Regions from separate parts of the Homo sapiens genome. Here region 1 is linked to region 2. Evidence: promoter capture Hi-C in human tissues and cell types (Jung and others, 2019). All regions are on one chromosome and are shown on one strand. Each heading gives the region's core, a stretch centred on a gene start or on the middle of the fragment in contact. The rest is flanking DNA. Distances are from core to core; before and after follow the strand shown. Region 1 has its middle 210 kb from the start of PPP1R3A. Region 2 holds the start of TMEM168 (transmembrane protein 168).

The links. Contacts are between HindIII fragments. The study calls those that stand out against the background at their distance.
Region 1: a fragment that was not itself captured here is called in contact with the fragment with the promoter of TMEM168 in region 2 in 1 of the 25 tissues and cell types used here (dorsolateral prefrontal cortex).

What each region holds. Positions count from the first base shown.
Region 1 is chr7:113,710,490-113,713,189 of GRCh38, forward strand. No RefSeq gene overlaps it. Among named protein-coding and RNA genes, the nearest start is that of PPP1R3A, 210 kb to the right of the region's middle. The HindIII fragment of the contact is 3,767 bases long and covers 1-2,700 here.
Region 2 is chr7:112,788,880-112,791,757 of GRCh38, forward strand. TMEM168 (transmembrane protein 168) reads right to left here and starts at 1,514. Exons shown (of 5, transcript NM_022484.6): 1 at 1,281-1,514. RefSeq lists an enhancer at 1,773-1,902. The HindIII fragment of the contact is 15,678 bases long and covers 1-2,878 here.

The sequences.
Region 1 (2,700 bases), core at 95-2,594, 920 kb after region 2:
CATAAACTGAATTGCAACCAGGAGTCCCTCAGAAAGCATGCACTTACTTAAGGTGAATGGAACTTGTAGGATTTGCATAATAGCTTACTGGGTCAACTAGGCACTAATCCAAATGTCTCAGACACATAGAATATCTGTCATTTAGTCAAAATCCTCTATGTGGCCTTTTCCTTTTTATTTTTTAGTTACGCCTTTTTTTAAATCAGTTTGGTTTTCCAAACCAGAGGGTAAGCCCTGGGCTGACAAAGTATCCAAATGCATCACGCTGTCCTAGAATAACTATCTACCCAAGTACTAATATTAAAATATTTAGTAACAGAATGACATTCCCTAAGATACTGTCCAGACAGCTTCCTGAGAATCTGTCATAGTCTCCAGAAGTTGGTGGCTTGATAAGTTCTGTTAGTAGTTCTCTTCCAGTGAATATAAATTTAGTTACTTAAGATGACTCAAGGGGCTAGTCATAAGGTGATTATCATCTGCCTTAAAGTTGACTTTATTTGAAATTAACATAGCAACACTAGTTTCCTTTTCTTTAGTATTTTTCAGTGTATGTTTCATCATCACTTTACTTTCAGCCTTTCTGTGTTTTAATGCTTAGATGCTGTCAGGAAACAAAGCTAGAACAAAAATAAATTTAATCTTAAAATCTATATTTTATTAATTCGGTTACATTTTTGTGATTATTAGCATGTATTTGGACATCTGTCATCTTTTTTTTACGATTTTACATCCTTTCTTGCTTAACTTTCTGCTTGTTTTGTAATTTCCCTTTTATTCTTCTACTAGCTTAGAAATTATGTATTTTATTTTCATTTTCTTTAGCAGTTGTCCTTTTATTTTTAACATCCATTCTTGACATAACAAAGTAGAACATTCAATAATATCTCTGTCCTTTCAAAAACATTAGAACAATTTATTTTTTAACATACTCCCCTCTTTAAGGGTAGCTGTCCAGTATTTTAGATACTACTTGCTTTGGAAGTCCTCAAAACCAGATACTTTTTGCAATCAAAGCTTACTGAGTTTTATTAAAATGTTTAAAATTTCTTTAGGGAAAATCACTTTGTGCATCATCATTTTTTTTCATCAGAATCCTCTTTTGTAGATACTTAAATGTATCAGTTAATTTTTCTTTCAGTAAAATCCACAAACTGAAAAGCTCTCAGATATTGTCTGAAAAATATGCCTTTATTTTGCCTTTATTCTTCATCAATCATTTAGCTGGGTATAAAAGTCCATTTGTTCAATCATTTCTCCTGAGTCCTTTGAAAGTATTTTTCCACTACCTGTGGTAGCTCTTGATGGTAAAAAACAGTTTTTATTCTGCTTACCTTTCCTTAGTAGATGATGTGTCTTTTCTTTTGAAACCTTTAAATGTTTTCTTTTTATTTTTATGTTCTGCAGTTTCATAATAACCCACTCATTGTGGAATTAATTGCATTTTCTTGCTCTGAATTTGTGTGCCACTTAAATCAAAAATTTTATTTTTTTCCCTTACATTTGGACAGACTTTCAGGCAATATTTCTGTAAATATTGCTTCACTGCTAGTCTCTACCTCTCCTTCTGGAACACCTTCCAAATAAACATGAGACTTTCTCACTCTATCTTTGGCATCTCTTAATATGCACTCATTGTGATGGTTAATTTTATGTGACAACTTGGCTATGCTAAAGTGCCCAGTTGTATTGGTCAACAACAAGTTTAGATTTTGAAGTATTTTTTAAAGATATGATTAGTATTTAAATCAGTAGACTTTGAATAAAGCAGATTATCTTTCACAATATCATGGGCCTCACTTAATCAGTTAAAGGCCTTAAGAGAAGAGATTAAGATCTTCAGAGAGGGAAGAAATTCTGCCTCTAGACTACCTTCCAACTTAAGACTGCAACATGACTCTTCCCTGGGTCTCTAGCCTGCTGGCCTGCCCAGAAGATTTGAGACTGTCAGCTTCCACAATAGCATAAGCCAATTCCTTAAAATAAATCTGTTTCCTTCCCTCTTCTCTCTGTATCTTTCTGTCTCTCCCTCACATGTTTGGACTTATTTCTATCACTTTGTTTTGTTTACTATTTTCCCTCCTTTCTTTGCTTAATTATCTGCATATCTATCTATCTATCTGCATATACACACACAGAGGCATATTTATAGATATATCTATATCTATATAGCTAGATATAGATAGAGGCATAAATCTATCTGTATCTATATATACTATATATCTATATATATACTATATATCTATATATCTATATATACTATATATCTATATATCTATATATATACTATATATCTATATATCTATACTATATATCTATATATATACTATATATCTATATATCTATACTATATATCTATATATATACTATATATCTATATATCTATACTATATATCTATATATATATATATACTATATCTATCTATCGAGAGAGAGAGAGAGAGAGATCATATTGCTTCTGTTTCTCTGGAGGATCCTGGCTAATAAAATCATATTTTCAATTCCATCTCTCTATGCTGCCTTTGACATATACTGAGTGATTTCTTCATCTTCAACATCTTGCTTACTAATACCATTTCAGCAGTTCCTAATCTGTTTAACTCTTCCATTAAATTATTTTTTTCTTTAATTAACATTTACATTTTGTTTGGTCTTTTTTTCTAGTTTCCCTGTGTGTGACCATAGCATTCTATCATACAT
Region 2 (2,878 bases), core at 264-2,763:
CACTCTTGCCCTCTCTAAGAAGTGTACTTTTTAAAACCAAAATTTAGCACTCCACTATGTAAAATGCTCCAATGGCGTCCCATCACCCTTAGCAATAAAGTCAAAACTCCTTACAGTGCCTTATAAGGCACTCCGTGTTGGGCCTGAATAACTCTCCTGCCTTATCTGTTACCAGTTTTCCTCTCACACTTTATTTTCCAACCTTACTGACCTTTCAATTACAAACTGCACAAATGCTATTCCCTTGCCAGGTACACTCCTTTTCCTCCTCCTGGCCCCACCCCAGTGCTCACACCTGGCTTATTCCAACTCTTCAGGTCTCAGATAAATCATTTTCTTAAGAGATTATCCCTGCCCCCTCCCCATTACATGACCCCCATACTTTCTCTGTTACATACCATCACTTATTTCATGTCTGCATTTCCCACTAGATCAAAAGGTCTCTGAGGGTTTGTCTTCAATACTGTACACCCAGTGACTAGCAAAAATCCGGCATCAAGAAGGTATTCAATAAATACTTGTTGAAAAATAAAGACTAATAAAGAAATAACTACATTTAACAACAATAGTCACCATTGGACACTTACTAATGCCTAAAGAGAATACAGAACTTAGCTATATCCCACAACTAATAACTAGTAGAACTAAGGGAGAGTCCATGAATGTTTGGTTTCTATTTCAGCTTTCCACCAGTCTTTACTTAATTCACCCAAATTCTTCCAAACCAATTCTCTCTCCATGTCCTACCTCTAGGGAATGGCTTGAGGCATACCGTATCACTTGCATTATCTTTCACTCAGAAACTCTGTCCCATCTAGAAGTGTCAAGGCTGAAAGAACTACACTGAAAAAACAGGGAATTTCAGTGCTTCAGTTCTGAATTACTGATAACTCTTTGAGCCATCTCATACGAGGAAAATGTCATCTAGAATATCAAACTCCTCAGCACTAGAGCAGCAACAGCAATTTCTCTCCCTTTCGGCCTCCTTCTAGCGAGATGTGGGAGGTCCGACAAGGAGCTTGGCTGTTCTCCACCATCCTCTGCCTCGGAGAACGCGACCACAACGTGGCGCCCAGTTGAGGGGGAACCCTTGCGAAATACGGAGAGGCGCTCCCACACCCTCCAATCTCCAACCACCACTGTCAACTCCTCCAGAGGCAGGTATCCTACCCCGGCCCTGGGAGGCCGACTGGGCGGAGCTTGGGGTCCGGACCACGCGGAGCCCTGGCAGTGTCTATGCCTAGATCTCGCCGCCCTGCCGTCCACCCATTTCTCCCTACCTGACTCGGCCGTCGCCACCAACGCGCTCTCCCAACCCTCGGAGTCAGTTCCAAAACCAAACCAAAAAGGAGGAGAGCAGACAAGGCTTCAGCCTGCGACTGAGAACAGGGAGGCGGCACGCCTTGGGGAACGAGGGCCCGAGGCCATACGCGCTAATACAGGCCAGTGTCGGCGTAAACTTTCTCCGTTACCGGCCCGGCCGCGACCGCCATGTTTCCGCCGCCGAAATCCGCGACGGTACGGAACGCCGCCGGGGTCAAACTGCGCGGCGCGCCTCCTTCCCGAGGCCCGGCCCCCTCCCCGCCCAAACCCGCGCGCCGCCACACACTCAGGTGAGCAAGGCGCTGCGCGAGTGTCAACTGCCCCACCTAAGGCGCCTGCCTTCCTCAAGCCAAAGTCGACTCCTGGGACCTGGAATCAGCAGCTGAGAACAGACAGCGGGAAGACCACCAAAGATCAGGCTGACAGTGCCCATCAAGCATCTAGGCCACCGCCTCGGGCTGGACCGAACGGGGACAGGGTGGACAGGACTGCCACGCGTGGGCTGTAAATACTGCGGGAGGCGTTGCTGCTCATTAATATATATGGCATAATATATGGCTTTGTAACCAGCTAAGGCCCAAGCTCCTTAGGCCCTCCCTCAGACCTTTCAGTTCCTCAAATGCAGGGACATGTCGGGTTTTGCTCAACATTAAATCACCTTAGCATAGTGCCTGACACATAGTTGGCACTTAAATATTTGTAAAATAATAATATGCAATAGGCTCTCCACGATCCGTAGTTCTCTCCTCCCACTTGTTTTGCATGTATTATCTATATATTTTTCCTATTTTCCATAATAGAGTGTGAATTTCCTAATTTTCATAATAGATGTTGGGGGTTGGTGTGGCCAGCACATCTATAGGAATGAACAACTCTCAGATTGAGATTCTGCATATGTGGATGAAAATTTTGAGTTAGATTCTCTCTAGACTCCTGATTTTAAAAGCAATCACAACTCAACTTCCCAAATCTGTAACTAGCTCTCTGGGGAACACGAGTGCCACATTTCCAACTACCTGCTAGATGTTTCTACTCAAATATATTGTCATCACTTCCAACTCAACTTGCCTTTAATGGACATTTATATACATTTATTATGCCCCCCATTTGAATCCCCTTCCGTATTTGGAGAATTCCCCACCTGAGTTAAGAGTCTAATGGCTGCCGCTGAAATGCTGAACACTTGTTTAACTAATCATGTGTACCCGCTGGAAGCCATGAGTCAAAAAAGGCACAGAAAGCTACACTCCCAGGTCACCTGTAGGAGTATAGCAAGTGTAGAGATCGAGAACCCATCCCTAACAGCAAGGTAAGCTTCCGAGGCAGTAGTGAGAGTGCTGGCATCCACCATTAACATGTCAGAGATGCAAGATGCCTGTGCTTGGTGAGGGTCACAACCCCAGAGCCCTTTCCCAATCTGTTCTGTAGCCTGTTAACAGTCTCTGTGTACATTTCTGGGTAGCCTGTGACAGACTCTGTACTACATAGCTGTGAGGCAGGACAATAGGGTCTGGAGGCAAGGAACTTACGGCTGATTCATGCTGACTTTCTAGAA